Regions from separate parts of the Homo sapiens genome. Here region 1 is linked to region 2. The links are contacts of gene promoters, found by promoter capture Hi-C in blood cells and fetal thymus (Javierre and others, 2016). All regions are on one chromosome and are shown on one strand. Each heading gives the region's core, a stretch centred on a gene start or on the middle of the fragment in contact. The rest is flanking DNA. Distances are from core to core; before and after follow the strand shown. Region 1 holds the start of SULT1C2 (sulfotransferase family 1C member 2). Region 2 holds the start of LIMS1-AS1 (LIMS1 antisense RNA 1).

What was found. Contacts are between HindIII fragments. The CHiCAGO score rates a contact against its expected background, and 5 or more counts as called.
Region 1: a fragment that was not itself captured here is called in contact with the fragment with the promoter of LIMS1-AS1 in region 2 in 5 of 17 cell types (M0 macrophages, M1 macrophages, total B cells and 2 more); the score reaches 8.6 in M0 macrophages.

The regions. Positions count from the first base shown.
Region 1 is chr2:108,287,510-108,292,419 of GRCh38, reverse strand. It overlaps SULT1C2 (sulfotransferase family 1C member 2), which reads right to left and starts at 3,525. Exons shown (of 8, transcript NM_001056.4): 1 at 3,350-3,525. The HindIII fragment of the contact is 242 bases long and covers 3,540-3,781 here.
Region 2 is chr2:108,675,923-108,680,764 of GRCh38, reverse strand. It overlaps LIMS1-AS1 (LIMS1 antisense RNA 1), which reads left to right and starts at 2,164. Exons shown (of 3, transcript NR_149074.1): 1 at 2,164-2,326; 2 at 3,274-3,451; 3 at 3,835-3,970. It overlaps LIMS1 (LIM zinc finger domain containing 1), which reads right to left. Exons shown (of 10, transcript NM_001193483.3): 6 at 4,737-4,842; 7 at 4,067-4,159; 8 at 2,738-2,786; 9 at 1-70. The HindIII fragment of the contact is 5,789 bases long and covers 1-4,020 here.

The sequences.
Region 1 (4,910 bases), core at 2,411-4,910, 390 kb after region 2:
GTGTGTGTGTGTGTGTGTGTGTGTGTTGTCATTGTTGTATTGAGGGAAGACTTTTAAATGCACCAAAAGGAGAAAGCAGAAGATGTAAATCACTGTTACTCAAGGATAACTGGCTACTGGGGTTCCAGAAGACATTTATTACTACTACTACTAATGAAATAGTAGTTAAAAGCTAACATTTATCGAACACGTCAATTTGCCAACGCTGGGCTGAGGCCTTGTATACATTAATTTATTTTAACTTTTGCTGAAAATGAGTGATAGAACTTCGGAGCTGAAAGGGTCCTTACAGAAAATGTAACAGTACATGCTTGCTAGAGGTTGAATAAAATAATCTGGCCCAGCTGCTTCATGGAATGGATGAGAAAACTAGGTGCCCAGATTAGTGAGGGCAGTTTTCATGGTGGCTTCTGCTTCCAGATTGAGCTGAGCCCTTTAAGATGAAGACAATTTTTGGAAAACGAAAGACAAATTATTTATGAAAATTTTCAAATATGAGAAGCAGTTGTATTTATAATACATCAAAGAAGGTGGAGTTTGGACAGTACTCCTGAGATAATGGTATGATCAAATTCAGGAGAGGAGGGATAAGAACAAACATTTCTTGCAGGCCTTCTATGTTAGGTCCTTCGTGGACTTTTCTTTTTCTTTCTTAATTCATATGACAATTTTATTAGGAAGGAATAATTATCACCCTCATAAATGTGAGGAAGCTGAGAGTCACACGATCAATAACTTGCCCAGGATCGCAGCCAACATCTGTATACGAATCCTATGTTCCTTCTTTAAAAATTGCCTCTTGTTTTTTTTTATTGTGAATTTAAAGTTATACATTGCAGAAACTTTGGAAACAGTCCAAATGTACAAGGAAAACATCTATCACACAAGAGTTGTTATTATTTTGATGTATTTCTATCTGTCTTTTTCAAATGTATATTGTTGTAGGCAGAATAATGGCCCTAAAGATGTCCACGTCCTAATTCCTAATACATTACATTGTGTGGCAAAGGGCTTTGCAGATGGAATTTAGGTTAAGAACCTTAAGGCAATGAGCATGTCCTGTATTATCCCGGTGGGTCTAATGTGACCACAAGGGCACTTAAAAGTGGACAAGGGTGTAGAAGAGCAGTCAGAGAGTCGTGTGGCAGAAGAAGTGGCTGGAGAGTTTGGAAGCATGAGAATGACTCAACTTGCCATTGATGGCTTAGAGACAAAGGGGAACACAAGACAAGGCATGACCTCCAGAAGCTGAGAATGAACCTCAGCCAACAAGCAAATGGGACCTCCATCCTACAGCCACATGAATCTGAATTCTGCCAACAACCAGAATGAGCTTGGAAGGGATTCTTCTTCAGACCCTCCAGAAGGGAACGCAGCCCTGCCAACACCTTGATTTTACCCAGAGACACCTGTTTGGACTTCTGACTTACAGAGGTGTGAGATAATAAACTTGTATTGTCTTAAGCTGCTAAATTTTTGATAATTTGTTATGGCAGTGATAGTGATAGAAAACTGTTTATACATAGTTATGAACAAAAAGTATACATATATATAAACATAAAACTACAAAACACTTTTTGGATACTGCTGTGGTTTGGATGTGGTTAGTCCCCACCAAAACTCTCTGTTGAAGTTTAACTGCCAGTGTGGCAGTGCTAGGACACGGGGTCTTGTGAGAGGTGTTTGGGCCATAAGGGTGGATTCCACATGAGTAGATTAATGCCATCTCCCAGAAGTGGGTGAGTTTGGTCCCTTTATACATGCCTGCTTGCCTTTCTATTTCTTCACCATGTCTTGATGCAGCATGGCCCTCACGAGAAGCTGAGCAGATGCCAGCACCATGCTCTTGGACTTTTCAGCCACCAGAATCATGATTCAAAATAAACCTCTTATATTTATAAATTACCCAGCCTCAGGTATTTTGTTATAGCAACATAAAATGGACTAAGACGGACATTATCGTGGTTTGAATTGTGTCTCTCTAAGTTCATATGTTGAAGTCCTAATTCATAGTATATTAGCATGTGGCTGTATTTGGAGATAATGTCTTTAAATAGGTGATTAAGTTAAAATGAGGCTGCTAGGATGAGACCTATTCCAATCTGGTATCCTTGTAATGAGAGGAGATTAGGACACACAAGGCAACACCAGGGATGTGTGCACATGGAGGAAAGACCATGTAAGGACACAGTGAGAAGGTCCTCCATAGGGTGGGGGTGAGGGGATGGTGAGTCCAATTCTGGGGTTGAGTCTGATGTATTTATGGGACTTCCCAATGTACACCTGTAGGCAGGTGTACATGTGAGCTTAGGGCTCTGGCCTTGAACTAATGCCCTGAGAATAATCCACGCAACACATTGACCAACTCTGTGGTAGGCGTTGTGCTCTGGGCAGGTAGCTGATGACCGAGGGCCTGGGCACAGCTGTGAACATGTGTGGAAGGGCACCTGCTGCTGCTGAGGACCAGGGCGGTTAAGGGCTTGGCTGTCCAGTGAACTATGGATCCCACTGTATTGCTCTTGTTGGAGGCCTGCACGGGGAGTGATAGAACCTGGCTAAAGCTGGGAGAAGGAGATGCAGCAAGAGATTGAGGCAGCTGGGTAGTGCAGTGGGAGCAGAGGGATCTGCCAGTTCCCACAGGAGAAGTCCCAAGTCCTTCTCACCCTCCCCAGGCCCCTCATTGCTGGGCCACATCAGCACATGGTTCCTGCCCTTGGAGAGTCAGGCATGTAGACACATACATTTCCCCTTGAGCAGCCAGCAGGGACATTTTCATCATATCAGGCCAGATCACTATGGCCTCCTTTGTGGAGGCATCCCTGACTCTGTAAACAGAAGTAATCACTCCTTTCCATGGGATCCTATAGTATTTTGTGTGCAAATTTTATAGGTCTTACTCCACGTCCTACAATTACTTGCTTATAAGTCTGGACCCTTGGAGCACAGGATCTGGTTCAGTCCCCTTGCAGGCCCAGCATGTGTCTTAGTCAATGGCTGGCATAAGAGGAGGGCTGTCATGGAAGAAGAAATAGTCTTGGCCAGAGAAGTTGAGCTGGCCCTGGAGGAGGATGGGACAGGGAGGGTATTTGGGAAAAGATCAGGGTGGGAGACAGAGATAGTATTACAGGAGAGAGAGCTTTTGGAGGTGATTTGAGGGGGGTCCTGAATTTCTAGGTCTGAATTTTTAGGCTGGAGGCTGTTAACAAAACTCTTTTATATTATTTTATCAGATTCTTAGGATCTTTTCTGGTTTGAATAAATGCATCTGTAAAGCCACACCTATGTGGCTAAAGGTTAAAAAATAAATTAACGAGTTAGGTACAGAATTTCTTTTAAGCCATATTCTTACCTTCAAGTTCCAGCTGAAAGTCAGCAGCTCAAAGGCCCACTCAAGGGTCAGTGGGCACGGAAAGGACTTTCACAGGAAGCAGACGGCAATTGCAGAGGCTCAAATTACTACTGTGTCAGAGTTACGGGGGCGCTCAGCAGGTAGCCAGCACTTTGGGAGGCTCTCAGCTTCAGTGTGGGAAGTTGAAGCTTTTACTGGAAGAATCCGGATTGAACAGAAACAAACCCTGTGACCTGGCCCTGGGAGGGAGAACTTCTCACTGTACCATGATCACTCATGTGACCCTGACTGCTGTGCAAATACCAACTCCCTCTAGTTCATATGAACTAAGGGCACACTCTACTCCTCCTCTCGGTCACCAGCTAGAGTTTTTCACATCTTTCCTGGCCCTCAGCTGCCTGGCCCCTCCCTCCTCCCACTGGCCTCGAAGCTTAAACAGGTGGGGGCTGGGGGGAAATGGAAGGTTGGCTCTAGGACCAGATGCATCAGGCTTCAGGTAGGCTCCTGCTTATTTGGTGAACTCCCTTTTCCTTCCTCCTTAGCCTGAGATTTAATTTCTGCATCTATGAAGTGTGGGTAATACTGCCTGTCTCCAATCCATGCTTTAAGATTGAAAGCAACAATGTTGATGAATACACTTTGCAGAGCAAATAGTAAGTGCTTAAAACTGCTGGTTCTTCTTTCCTTTCTTCCCAAGTTGTATTCATCCACACCGAAAATGCAGAGAGGATAGAACAAAAGTCTAGAGCTTAGGTGTGTACTTATTTTTTCTTTGCCTTATTGTACAAAAGGTACACTTTAGTGGAGGCAGATTATATTCCATGGTGTCTTTGGTTACCTGGGAAATTAAATGGATCAAGTGTTAATGATCTCTGAACTGCTACTCTTCTGCCAGCCCCAACCTTGTATCTACCCCAGTGCTTTCCTTTCTGGAATTGAAGCATAATTCTGCACCCCATCTGCCCTTCTTGCCAAAGCTTTCCTTGTCTTCTTTGACCCTGAACCTCCTAATGCTTCTTTGCCGACACTTCTTCTTCCTCCTTGTTTCCAAAGGGCTCTTTTTTTCCCAATAAATTGAACTTTCTTTTTCTTTCTTTTTTCTTTTTTTTTTTTTTTTTGAGATGGTGTTTCACTCCTGTTGCCCAGGCTGGAGTGCAATGGTGCAATCTTGGCTCACTGCAACCTCCGCCTCCCGGGTTCAAGCGATTCTCCTGTCTCAGCCTCCTGAGTAGCTGGGACTACAGGCGTGCGCCACCATGCCCAGCTAATTTTTTTTTGGTATTTTTAGTAGAGACGGGGTCTCACCATGTTGGCCAGGCTAGTCTCCAACTCCTGCTCCCAGGTGATCTGCCCGCCTTGACCTCCCAAAGTGCTGGGATTACAGGCATAAGCCACTGCGCCCGGCTGAACTTTATTTTTCTACTTCTGCTCTCTTTCCAGTTCCACTTATCCCAGTGCTGTCAATTTTCAGCCCCATAGGGCTGATTCACAGTTCTTAGTGCAACCTCACATTTTCTCTGCAGTTAAAGTCCCTAAGTCTACTAAAGTGTCTGCCAGTATC
Region 2 (4,842 bases), core at 915-3,414:
GTTAATTTAGTGTTGCAGGTAGAACAGGCAAAGCAGTTCACGCACCAGGCCTTATTAAGAGCAGAGACCACTGGAGAAAGAGGAAAGAGATCTGGTCACATGGAAATACATCAGTATGGGGAGCAGGGCAGCTTAGAATTTCAACTCCAAAACAGAACTACGACTGTGTCTGTGGCACTTGGTGGAGGTTCTCAAGAACCTTTTTTTTTTTTTTTTTTTTTTTTAAATGAGACAGGGTCTTGCTCTATAGCCCAGGCTGGAGTACAGTGGCACAATCTTGGCTCACTGTAACCCCAACCTCCCAGGCTCAAGTGATCCTCCCACCTCAGCCTCCTGAGTAGCTGGGACTACAGGTGCATGCCACTACACCTGGCTAATTTTTTTTTTTTTTTTTTTTTTGAGACGGAATCTCGCTCTGTTGCCAGGCTGGAGTGCAGTGGCGCAATCACGGCTCACTGCAACCTCCGCCTCCTGGGTTCAAGCGATTCTCCTGCCTCATTTTCCCAAGTAGCTGGGACTACAGGTGCGTGCCACCATGCCCAGCTAATTTTTGTATTTAATAGAGACGGGATTTCACCATGTTGGCCAAGATGGTCTCAATCTCTTGACCTTGTGATCCGCCCGTCTTGGCCTCCCAGAGTGCTGGGATTACAAGCGTGAGCCACTGCGCCCGGCCTATACCTGTCTAATTTTTGTATTTTTTATAGAGACACGGTCTTGCCATGTTTCCCAGGACGGTCTTGAACTCCTGGGCTCAAGCAATCTACCTGCCTCGGTCTCCCAAAATGCTGAGATTATAGGCATGAGCCACCATGCCCAGCCAAGAACCTCTTTCCTGAGAGCTTCTTTTCTTTTGTTTTTCAGACAGGGTCTCGCTCTGTTGTCCAGGCTGTATTGCAGTGGTGCGATCACAGCTCGAACTCCTGGGCTCAAGCAATCTTCTCCTCTCGTTCTCCTGTGTAGCTGGGACCATAGGTGTGTGCTACCACACCTGGCTAATTTTTTATTTTGTAGAGATGGAGGTCTTGCTCTGTTGCCCAGGCTGGTATCGAACTCCTGGCCTCAAGAAATTCTCCTGTCTCGGCCTCCTTAAGTGCTGGGATTACAGGTATAAGCCACCACACCCGGCCCTCAACCTTTATGTATACAGTTGTTGCTCAGTATGTGCAGGATACTGTTTCTAGGATGCTGTGAGGATACCAAAATCTCAGACGCTCAAGTCCCTGATATAAAATGCATATAACCTATGTACATTGTCTTGTATACATTTATTTATTTTTTTTGAGACGAAGTTTTTGCTCTTGTTGCCCAGGCTGGAGTGCAATGGTGTGATCTTGGCTCACAGCAACCTCTGCCTCCCGGGTTCAGGTGATTCTCCTGTCTCAGCCTCCCGAGTAGCTGGGATCATAGGCATGCACCACCACACCCAGCTAAGTTTTTGTATTTTTAGTAGAGATGGGGTTTCACCATGTTGGCCAGACTGCTCTTGAACTCTTGACCTCAGTTGATCTGCCCGCCTTGGCCTCCCAAAGTGTTGGGATCACAGGCGTGAGCCACTGAGCCTGGTCCTATCTCGTATACTTTAGATCATCTCTAGGTTAATTATAATGCCTAGTACAATGTAAATGATATGTAAATAGTCATTATACTGTACTATTTGTACTGTTATATTGTTATTTTTCTCTAAATATTTTTGATCCATAGTTGGTTGAATCCACGGATGTTTGGATCCAGCCCCTGGATACGGAGGGCTGACTTTAATCTTCCCCCATCCTTAAGTATCCTGTGAAGTTATAAATGATGTGTGCCATGTCTTACACCAGCAACTGTGCCCCCTTGGCCTGGGCACATGTGGCAACTGTCCATGCACCATGTTGTTTAGGTGAGCTTGCTGTTTCTGTCCCTACTGCTGTTGGCCCAACATGGAAATATGAACTAGGTAAATAATTTTCAAAAATCCAGACATTAACTTATTTGCCCCTGTAGGAGTCTTTTTTCCAGAGCTGATGATAAGAAGACAGTTTCCTTTGCAGCTTCTTTCACCTGGCATCTATTTCACAGAGGAGGGAGGTAAGTTTTATTTTCAATGGCACTAAAGATTGTTTTCCTGGATTGTTTTCACAAACTGCACATGAACAGTGTTTCAAAAGTATTTCCTGAATTAGGTGATGTCTGCAGGGAGCCATGAATCATGCTGAAAACAGGATTGTTCAAAACTTTGCCAGGAAGTCTCTGGCAGAAGTGTGTTAGCGAGTCTTAGCAAACACAGCTGCTTCCTTTCTGTTCCAATCAATCAGCCCAGCCTAATTACCACAGTACAAGGGTGGTAAGTCCTAGATATGCTTGCTGATAACTGCCAGCTTTTAGCATGTGCAGGTTAAAGTGCCTCTTCCTAACTACGATAGCAGATTAAACTGTTCCTAATAAACGTTGTTCTAGAGCTTCCTGAAACTGGACACAAACAGGTCTTAGGGTCCACCAGGGACAGTTCCCATGATTGCTGGCATACAACACTGCAGCAGTGGCCGAAAGTAGTGTCATAAATCAGTAACAAATCCAACTCTTTGATATTATCATCTTACTGCTACAGATTACTTGGAAAATACGCCAAAGATAGAGAAAAAGTAACTGATAACGATCACATTTCAAACCATACAATCACCAACCTGAATTTCCACATTACCCAAGTGTTTTTGTGTCAAAGTGGCACCAATCTAAAACTCACACAGATACTTACCATCACCTTCTATAACACGATTGCAGTGGAAGCAAACATCACCAAATAGCTGAAAATAAAAAAAGGTGGTCAAAGTTCAAGATGTGTTAGAATTTTTAGAACACTGAACATTTAAAAATAGCTGGCTATCTAAATTGAGGATTTATCACTACTAGAGAAATTTAGTAAAAGTTCTTTGACAAGTTTTTACTTCTTACAATGAAAGTAATTCACTCTCATCAATTAAAAGAAAAACTTTCCAGATGACAGTTTGAACACCCAAATAAGTGATGCAAAATATAGAAATCTGTGAGTCCATATGGATAAGAAATAGATAAATGAATAAACCTATAGACGGGAGAGGAGGTGGGTTCTTGCTCAGGCAGAGCGCTGAGGACCAGACTATGGGTGGAGGGCATGGGGCTGGAGAAGTGTCGTTTGCAGCTGGCGCAGAGACAAGAATCATCAAGGGGTGCTGAATCTAGGGCAGGTTGATGAGGAACAGGACATTTCCATGGTCATAAAATGATTGCCCACAGATTGCTTCTTTCTTACAGAGGAGGGAAGGAAATTGTAATTCACAGTGATGTTATCAGCCAGCACCATGCCTGGGAGATCACCAGGGCAGGAGAGGTATAAAATGCTCCAGGGGCAAGGTTCTGAGAAGATGCCCTGCCACTGTATGAGGCCACAACCTGCTGTGTATAACCTCATCTAAGCACAGAGAAGCACCAGGTGAACCCAAGTGGAAAGTAGTCTATTAAAAAGGGGTTAGGGGCCCTCTGCATCCCTCCAAAATGTCAATGTCATCAAAAATTTTAAAAGACTCTGGAAACGTTCCAGATTTAAGAAGGCTAAAGAAACATCACAGCCAGAGGCTGGGTCCAGTCTGGGAGTGGAAAAAATGCTGTGAGGATATTGACTCAAGTGACAAAACTGGAATAAATGGTTAGAGTACGGTATCAATATTGATAACTACAATTATGTTAGAGAGTCCCATATTCTTGGGAAATATACACTGAAGTATTTAGGGATAAAGGAGTATGATGAACTTATTGGCAAAACAGCCATCGTACTTGTATATAATATTTACGTAACTATGTGTTTTACACAGGAAGACTGAGCTTGGGAAATGATAAAGCAAACTGTGGACTTGAATGAAAGACATACAGGTATTCTTTGTATATTTTATAGTTAGCTTCTGAGTCTGAAATTATTTCCCAAATAAAAAGTTAAAAACAAATCTCTACTGAACAATGTACATCTTCCAAGAGATTTCCTTGTAGCTAAACTACTGATAAGCTTAGGTTCATAAAAGTCTATCTAGCATCCAGTGACTAAGGTCAATACCTGGTTATAGTGAGTTTCACAATATGCCAGGCCTTTCCTCTCATAATGGCGATGTCCAAGAAAGGGTTTCTCACACTTGGCACAAACAAAATGCTGAAAAAAAATTGCTATAGGTCATTTTTGAATTGCCATATTTTATATCTAATAAAGTAAATACCAGAGTTAACCTATTTTCAGAGAAGATGAAGGAAAGTTTGAGACAGTCATTTCATTTGGCCATAGGTGGCCCCATAATATAATACTTCTGCAGTTGTAATTCAGGTGTCTGTCTTTGAAGGTTACTTTAAGACATAGCCTATTATAATAGCCCAAAAAGAGAATAGAGGTGAGCATCTCAGTAGCACCTATAAAGGAGGAGCTGCTGCTGGATACAGACCATGGCACTTCCTGCTTCAAGAAGGCTTTAGGAGCAAAAGTACACATCCTGTATCATTACTGAGACATTCACAAAAGCAGTGTACATTATATATTCTTAGCTGTCAGCAAAGTCAATTGTCTTTAAAATGTCCACGTTTAATCTTTAGAGTCTCCTAATCTTGCCAGGACACCTGAATCATGAAGATTTGAAAGTACTGGTTACCCCTGAATCATGGGAGATCTGAAAGTATTGGTTACCCCTTAATCATGGAGATTTGAAAGGATTGGTTACCCTTTGCCATTTAGAACTCACCTCCACATGCCACTGCTTGCCCATAGCGTTCACCACGCGCCCTTCGATGGGCCGTCGGCAAGCACCACAGATGGGGACCCCCATTTTATCATGGCATGGGAGGCAG